Linked DNA regions of Homo sapiens: region 1 is linked to region 2. Evidence: promoter capture Hi-C in human tissues and cell types (Jung and others, 2019). All regions are on one chromosome and are shown on one strand. Each heading gives the region's core, a stretch centred on a gene start or on the middle of the fragment in contact. The rest is flanking DNA. Distances are from core to core; before and after follow the strand shown.

What was found. The method cuts DNA at HindIII sites, captures the fragments that hold promoters and counts their contacts. A contact is called where the count stands out against the background at its distance.
Region 1: a contact is called between a fragment that was not itself captured here and the fragment with the promoter of ALDH18A1 in region 2, in 1 of the 25 tissues and cell types used here (H1 embryonic stem cells).

Annotation. Positions count from the first base shown.
Region 1 is chr10:95,431,363-95,435,781 of GRCh38, reverse strand. It overlaps SORBS1 (sorbin and SH3 domain containing 1), which reads left to right. Exons shown (of 33, transcript NM_001034954.3): 5 at 1,065-1,160; 6 at 3,206-3,334. Among named protein-coding and RNA genes, the nearest start is that of SORBS1, 130 kb to the left of the region's middle. The HindIII fragment of the contact is 5,522 bases long and covers 145-4,419 here.
Region 2 is chr10:95,653,750-95,658,051 of GRCh38, reverse strand. ALDH18A1 (aldehyde dehydrogenase 18 family member A1) reads left to right here and starts at 1,341. Exons shown (of 18, transcript NM_002860.4): 1 at 1,341-1,455. RefSeq lists a silencer at 1,495-1,604. The HindIII fragment of the contact is 17,710 bases long and covers 1-4,302 here.

The DNA of each region.
Region 1 (4,419 bases), core at 1,656-4,155, 220 kb after region 2:
AAGGTGCACTGTCTCTGGCCGACATGCCTCCCTTCTGTTGCCTTGACAGGCTCACCAGCACGATGCTGACTTTGCAGTGGCGGTCTTGTTCCCAGACAGCCCTACCCGCTGTGTTTCTGTAGATCTGTGGCCACAGTCGACTCTGGCACCTTCACACAGAGCTCCCATCCCTCTTTATGTGCTGCCCTTGAAAGAGAGGACGAGGGGAGGCCTCACAACAGGCTCGGTGTGAGGAGAGTTAGGGAACGTGCCTACCATGAGATTACAGAATCTGGGCAGGCAGGGAGCCCAGAGACCCTGCAGATAGATAAGTTTGAGCACCCAGGATGTTCGAGCGGTAGCCTTCACCACGTCCCAGGCAGGCATTCCTGCTCTGCCTTAGCTCAGCTGGGCATTGGGGTCCTGGGCTGTGCACTTGGGTGCTGCCCAGAGACTACATATGCACTTGGACACTTGGCACCTCCTGACCAGGAAAGGGTGGGTTTGAGCAAGGCCATCTGCCGTTTAACAGATGGGGGCTTTGATTTGCTTGGGGCCAGAGGGCTACAATTATCGGAGCAGGCACAAGACCCCGGAAGTTATGCTATGGGGGAAGTAGCTCTGATGGCTGAAGGGACCAGACAACTCACGATCTTGTTCCTTCGTTCTTCCACTCATCTGGAGCCCATGGGCCACAGCCCTCCTCCTCGGAACCCACTCCCCAGCCTTCTCCCAAGAGGCCCTGTGGACCCTGAGTGCTCTCCCCTTCTTCTGTTTGCCAGGCCATCTGTGTGCCTCTGTAAATCTTTGTCCAGAGCTTTGGCAAGCTCCTGGTGTGGTAGGAGGCACCGGTCAACACTGACCAGCTGTATTTGGGTGATAGTTAGAGGGGAGGGGTCTGTTGTCTTGGCCTAGAACTCTAAAGAGAGAAAGCAGGTTATTTTTAATTACTGCATCTACTGCCCTTTGTATTGTTCTTGTTGTGTGGGCGACTTCCTCCTATTGTCCCTGCCCAGTTCCTCAACTGCCTGAGTGTTTCCCAAATGTTCTTTCTGGATGCACCATTTACCCTTTTGTGTTTTCAGCAACTGCCGACCCTTTACGCGCACGCTCTATTTCTGCTGTTAAAATCATTCCTGTGAAGACAGTGAAAAACGCCTCAGGCCTAGTTCTCCCTACAGGTATCTCCTTGGGTCGGTCGATTTTCTCTAACTGTGAGCGGATCATGGCATGGTTTTCCTTTCTTCTTTTCTTCTAACACGCACTTTGAGCTGAATCGTTGCATGTTTAGGAGGCATTCCGTCTCACTTCCTCAGCTTGCTTCCTTACTTCCTCTGTGTATGTGAATGTCTGTGTGCGTTTTCCTGAGAGCCAGCGAATGTGGGGAGGAACTGAGGACAGAGGCCTTGCCCCTCTTTTCTTTAGGAGAAGGGTCAGTCCAGAGGCTCAGCTTTCCCTTTGGGATGGGTCTGCGGTGCATGGACATCCTAGGCTCTCCCTAGAGGTTTCCAGCCCCCAGTACTTTAGCAAAAACTGCAGTCTCCCTGAGAATTAACCTGGTCTCACAGAGAACCTCTGAACTTAGCTGAATTTGAAGCAGCTGCCCTTAGGTGCCCAACCTAGATTCGCCTCTGATGCTCACCGGGCCATCCCAGAGCATCCCCTTTGCCTTCCCCAGTTTTACCTGCAGCCACTTCCTGCCTCTCCCCTCCAGAGGGTGGGGGAGTACAGTTCAGATGTCAGCTCTGGCTCATCGCTTCCTTCTGTACAAAGTGGGGACACATGAGGCCTACACAGTACTTTATCCAATGGCGCTTTCAGAAGTAACTGGGCTGTGTGTCCAGGAACCTATGGATGGGCTGCATCCATCAGTGTGCCTCTCATCCTTTTGAAGTGACTATGAACCAGTTTTCCCAATAGTTTGGTGACATCAGTCGCTTAGCCTCTTGATAGAGTTGGATAAGTCAGATGCTCTCCAAGGCTGATGCTTGCCCTGACACATTGTGCGTTTCGTGCATTGCGTTCAATACAAGAGGTGCTGACGAGGCAGGTCCATTCTCTTGTCTAACGCTAATGATCATTCTCCCTGAGTTGTTGGCAGGGGGCTGCTGGCGTGGAAGGAAAGGAAAGAAGAGGCTTTGCTTCTCTCTGCCCTCGGAGGGGAATGGGGATGAGCTGGATGTTTGAACTCACATCCTGCCCAGACACACACCCTGAATGTCAACCTGTAATCCTAACTGTGACAATTTTAGGTCAGGGATCTAGGCTGTGAGCAATTTGAAAACAAAACAAAACTGTGGCGTTCTGCATAGCTCAGCTGCACATAAAGAAACACTCTGCGTGTGCCTCCCAGAACTGTGTGGTCTGCCCTGGTTCCCTGCCTCCGTGACTGATTTCCTGCAGGATGGCATTCAGATCTTTTGAAGCGTATTTTGAAATCTTTCTCAAGGAAACTCTAAAAGTTGACCTGGGTCTGTTATTAGGCCCTAGTGAAACTGTAGGAGACGCCAGGACCCTGTGAAGACAGCTGAGGCTCGGTGGACACTGCTCATTGAAGGATTTAGCCTTCTGAGTCGTTTTTGTTGCTGTGAGTTTTCTTTGTTATGTTTGGAAAGTGAGACTGTCACTCGTGAGCTTTCTCGCCAGGCAGCATATCCTTCTGTCTCAGCATTTTGGGAGTCTTGACTTGCTGATCCAAGGAGATTTGCTTTTCCTTTTCCCACTGGAAAACTGCAAAGGGGTAGTTGTTCTCCATGGGACCACCCGCCCCCACCCCCCCCACCGCCCCCACTTCCGTAGTTGCCAGCCTGGTCTTCAATGAGAAGTATGGTCTGGAAGCTTGAAACATCTTTCATAAACTCTTTCTTGAACTGTGCCTTACTAACTGGTCAGAAGTCTGCTCATCAACCTAAACTTCATTTAATAAAAGGAATAAACCTGCTTTCATTTTGAAATGTTTTCAGCTGATAGTATAACTCATCCATTTACTCAGAACTCACCATTGCCGCCATGTTCCCCTAACTTCATGATGCACAGTAAACCTCTGAAAACTTGCCCCTCTCCACCACCCACAGATTAATTTCATTGACCACAGGTGTTCAAAGACTTCGCATGGCTGTAACCAGGTTCATCTCATTCCCCGGCTGTAACAATTTGCTAACCAACTGTCCTTTAATCCTTCAGGAGTCTTGGATTCAGTCTTCAATTTTGGACCTTTTCTTTTCAGACATGGATCTTACAAAAATCTGCACTGGGAAGGGAGCGGTGACTCTCCGGGCCTCGTCTTCCTACAGGGAAACCCCAAGCAGTAGCCCTGCGAGCCCTCAGGAAACCCGGCAACACGAAAGCAAACCAGGTGCGCGGAAGCTAGGGAAAGCTGTTCAAAGCCACGTGGGAAGGGCGGGAGGAGGCTCTGGTGTTTTTGCTCAGGAGGGTGTGAGTTCATCAGATACCTCTTGGGGGGGGGGGGTGTGTGTGTGTGTGTGTGTGTCTCTTACGGTCCCCTGGGACAGTCAAATCATTTGGATGGGTAGTGGTCAAAGCCTCAAACTGACAGTCACATGCTGCAGATGAAGGCACAGCAATAACCACACTTTATGTTAGCTTTGACTGAGCAGGTCATCCTGTGACCACAGCCAGTGCTCTGCAGACTGCTCTCATGCAGACTGAAATAGCTTAGGGCATGGGGGGTAAGTAAGCGGTGCGATGGGCTAGAGGTTGGGCTTCTCAGAGCTCATCCCTGCTTCCTAGAGGTTCACTGTGACCTGTCCAGGCTGGGCTGGAGGTGCAGCCAGGGGAGACTGAGAAGTGTGGATGACTCAATGATCTTGCTCCTGGAAAAGCAGAGGTGGGGAGGGCTCAGGCCTGGGATTGGCCACTAGCCAGCTGCGGGAGCAGGATCAGGAAAGTAGCTCAAAGGCCCAGTGTAAACTAGGAGCAAAGGGAGATCAAAGAAGCCACATGAAGCCCATCTCCCCACCTTAACCCATCACTTGGGAAACCTGAGGTATTGAGGTTTAGAACTGGGACTTCAGAACCGGGTAGATCTCTGTGCACACCCTGTCCCCACCACCTGTCAGCTGTGCAACTTTGGTCGAGTTATTCACTGTCTCTCAACCCTGATGAACTGTAGAATGGGGTTGATAATTGCATCTGCCTCAGGATTATTGTGAGGAAGAAGTGTATGAAGTGCTGTGTATCATGCCTGGTGGCATGGAATAGACTGTTAGATGTTAGCTGCTATTTGATTATGATTAGATTATTTTGGCCTCTCCAGGGACGACTTTGCACAGCCCAAGTATTCTGGTAGTTGGCAAATGCTGACTTTGAGATCAGGCACAGTTAGTTTAGGGTGAGACAGCACCTCTCCACTCTGTAGGGCAGTGACTTTCACACTTTAGCTGCATCAGAATCACTTGGAGTAAAAAGGTAGGTTGCTGG
Region 2 (4,302 bases), core at 92-2,591:
TAAAACACAATAACACAGACTGGATAATTTTTAAATAATAGAAATTTATTTCTCACAGTTCTAGAGGCTAGGAAGTCCAAGATCAAGGTGCCAGCATCTGGTGAGGGCTTTCTTGCTGTATCCTCACGTGGTGGAAGGGCAGAAGAGCAGAAGAGAACACCCACCTCCACAAACCTTTTGATAGCAGCATTAATCTATTCATGAGGGTCACTCTATTCATAAAGGTGGAGCACTCTTGACCCAAATGCCTCCCATTAGGCCCCACCTCCCAATATTCTTGCATTGGGAATTAAGTTTCCAACATATGAATTTTGGGGGACATATTCAGACCATAGCAGTAGCCAGTGTTTAATAAACAAGAAAATGAATAAATAGGCTTAGTAGTGTTATCAGGGACGACAGAAGGGCATGATGCCTTTCTGTGCCCAACCTCCTATCAAGTGCTGCCCTCCCACCACCCAGCACTATGTGCCTATGCAGGAATGTGTCCTTTGAGCAAAATACAGCAAGGAAAGAGGGAGAAAAATCTGTGTTTTCACTTTTTTTCTTTTTCTTTTTAAGAGGTGGGGTCTTGCTGTGTTGTCCAGGCTGGATTTGAACTCCTGGGCTCAGGTGGTTCTCCTGCCTCCACCTACGAGTAGCTGGGACTACAGGCACACACCACAGTGCCAGGTTTTTGTGGTCTCTCTTTAAAGGTGAGTCTGCATTCACCTTTGGAATAGTTCTAGTTGTCATAGATTGAATATCCTATTTTAAAATGCAATATTCTTACAACTGCCTTTGATGAAAGGGAGTTGAGATGGGACCATTGGGGAAACCTCCAGATGACTAGGGGGCAAGTAATTTGATTGCAGTGCCAAAATGCTTCCATTTAAGGAGCCAAAGTTTGCAAATGTGTGTAAACTGATCCAATCTATTCCCAGGATGTGCCTGAAGTAACAAACATATGTAAGTTGATCCAACCTATTTCCGAGGTGTGCCCGGGATATAAATGGTTAACATTGACAAACACACCTTATGAAATCTACCAGCAGCTGAGGGTGCCAGGCACCTCTTCTACCTCCCTGGAAGGCCCAGTGGGGCGGCGTTTCGAAGGTGTCTTCGCCCCTGTCTCCGGCCCCTGTCCCCTCCCGGGACGTGGGCGTTCCCCCTGAACTCGAGTCCCGCCTCTTCCAGGCTGCCGGGGCCTGGTGGGCTGGCCCGCCACGTGGAGCGCTGGCTTGATTCTCGAAAGGGGCCTACGCCATTGCCGCGCCGCAGCTCCAGGACAGGCCCTCGCCCCACGTCAACAGCGTAGGGCCGGCTGCCCAGGTTTACTCTTACGCCACTGACGTAACGTCATCGTGCGGGACGTGGACGGAAGAAAAAAGAGAGTGAGCGAGCGCCGGAATCAGCCCGGCGTGGAGTGCGGACCCGCGGTAGTGCCAGGGGGCGAAGGCGGCGGTGGTGAGGAAGGTACGCGGCGAGCGGCGGGGATGGCTAGGCGCCCGCGTCTCTGCGGAAGCTGTTGCGCGCCCAGGCTCAAGCGCGAGGGGCGTGAGCGCCGGGCCGCTGGAGCGGGGACGCTGCCGGAGCAGGTGCCGGGGCCCGGGGATCTGGCCCATGGGTAGGTGTGGGCCTCGGCCGAGGGATGGCGGCTGCATCGGGCCGCCCAGGGCGCGCTGCAAGACCGTGGCGCGCTCCCATATGCCGGTGCGCGGCCGCCCCGGGATCTACGGATGGCTACGGGCCCTGACCTCCCCGGCCTCCCCTGGGTACACCATGTAAGGAACTGGGCCAAGTGGAGACTTCAGGCATCCGCGGGCCCCTTCTTTCCAAGAGTATGGAGCCTGCACTGGTGGGTGGCGTGGGTGGCGGTGGTGGCAGCGCCGGGATGCCGCGGGTTTTAGCTGGCCGCACGCTGACTCTCAGGGGCCTGGGTCCCTAGTTCCCCGCGGCCCTCCAGGCGTTCATCATCCCCTCCTCAAAGCCAGACTCCCTTTGCAGTATGGCATTCTGTGTATGCTGGGGTCTTCCTGTTACAGCAGGACGCACCCACATACCCCACCTCGTCCTTCCCCCATCATTATCCCCTGCCCTCTGAGGTGGTGAGGCCCATCGGATCTTTGTATTTAAGTGGTGAGCCATATACCGAGCATGTGTTTGTGGGTGAACTGTGCTGGGACTGAGGTTCACTTCTCTGTTCAAATCAGTTAGATAAGGGCATTCTGTTTAGTCTGTAAAGAGATATTGAGAAATGTCTTGAGTCAAAACGTGAAAACTTTCTTCAACTGATGATATGGAGTCTAAACACACACACAGAGTCGAGACACAGTCACACAAATCTAGACACGAGTCTAGATACACACACACACACACACACACACACACTCTCTTTGCTCCTTGGGATCAACTGTGTGCTTCTCGAGGGCGTAATACACTCTGCCTGGTCAGTCAGAGATGGTGGTACAGGGGAGAGGTCAGGAGGCTTGGTTTCTACGTCAGTCTTCAATCTCTTATTTCAGTGACCGTAGGTGTTCAGAGCTTTCAATGACTCTTGGTTAATAGAGAGGTAAACAGTCAGTCAATATATGTGTGTGATTGTATCTAATAGTGAATATTCGTTGAATTCTTTGTTCCCGTGATGGGTCTTGAAGGAAATTAAGGAAAAAATAATTGTAAGGCATCATTAGTGCCTAAAAGACAAAAGGAGGAAAACTGACATTTACTGACCATTTGTTGTACCCAAGCACTTTCCACGCATTCTCTCTTTTAATTCTCACTATAATTTCATGAGGTCCATAGTGTTAGTATCCCTGATTTATAAGTGAGGAAACAGAGGCTTAGAAAAATTGGGTAACTCTTACATATGTAACTAACCTGCACATTGTGCACATGTACCCTAAAACTTAAAGTATAATAATAATAATAATAATAATAATAAAGAAAAATTGGGTAACTCTCCACAAGACACACAGCAAGTGCAGAGCTCGAACCCAAATCTGACCAACTTCAAAGGCCTTGTTCCTCATCGTTTTTGCCATATTGTCAATGGAAAGTTTGTAATCCAGATGGGAAAAGCAGTAGTCATGAGCTATTTAAAAGCTAACCTATAGAATTATATCCAGCTGTGAAGACTAGCCTTGCTGGGGAAGGTTTCTTAGGGAGGTGGAACTGGAATTTGATTGTTTTACCCTTTGGCTCTTCTGTAGTTATTTTGGAGAATTCACATGTAAATAATTGTTTAGCAGCCATTATTGAAGGAATTTATATAAGCAGCAAACTTAGATCACGTGCTAAAATCATACTTCAGTGTTATGAAAAAATTGAAATAACAAAGATCAATTAATACTTTCTGTTGCCTACTAGATGCCATATGTTTTAGAACAGCTGCATCCTGCCAGTCTCTTCTCTGTCCCATTTCAGTGCCTTTGTGCAGTATAAATTGTAAAGCAATGACACCATTCCTAATTTTTCTTCACTATGGGGCTAAATGCTAGTCTTCTGAGGCACATTTAAGAGGGCTGGGATATATCCACCAATCCATGGAACAAAAGTTAAAAGGAGGCCCACAAACAAAGAAAGTGAAGTATTTTTCTTACCTTGTGAAAATAGCAGTGTCTCTGTAGCATAAAAAGAGCTACAATATTGGGAGGCCGAGGTGGGTGGATCACAAGGTCAGGAGATCGAGACCATCCTGGCCAACATGGTGAAACCCCGTCTCTGCTAAAATACAAAAAATTAGCCAGGCATGGTAGCGCGTGCCTGTAGTCCCAGCTACTCGGGAGGCTGAGGCAGGGGAATCACTTGAACCCGGGAGACAGAGGTTGCAGTGAGCCGAGATCGCTCCATTGTACTCCAGCCTGGCAACAGAACAAGACTCCATCTTAAAAAAAAAAAAAAAAAGCTACAATAATGAATGGCTTGTTCTCCCTGTACATATAGGAAGGAGTTCCCTACTTTTTTGTGAAATAAACTATTCTTTGTCTAAAGTCTCAAATTTGACCCAGGGTGAGGAAATGCCCATAACTGCCTTATGTTCTCAACCGAGATTTGTAGCCATATTCTCTTCCTCCACAGGATTAAGATGTTAGCCAGTTGTAGGCATTGCCACTGCCTTCCAGGGGTACAAGAGTTATTTTGTAATCCTGTGGGCATCAGGAAGAAAGACATGGCAGCAGCCTCTGGCCTTTCCTCTTGCTTTTCATGGCTGGCTGGCAAGGATCAAGCTGACATTTCAAATAGGTGCATTTCCTGGTTCTGTTGGGAGATGTTAGCAGAAAGGTGGACATGATTGCTTTAGGATGTTGGATCTGTTACAGG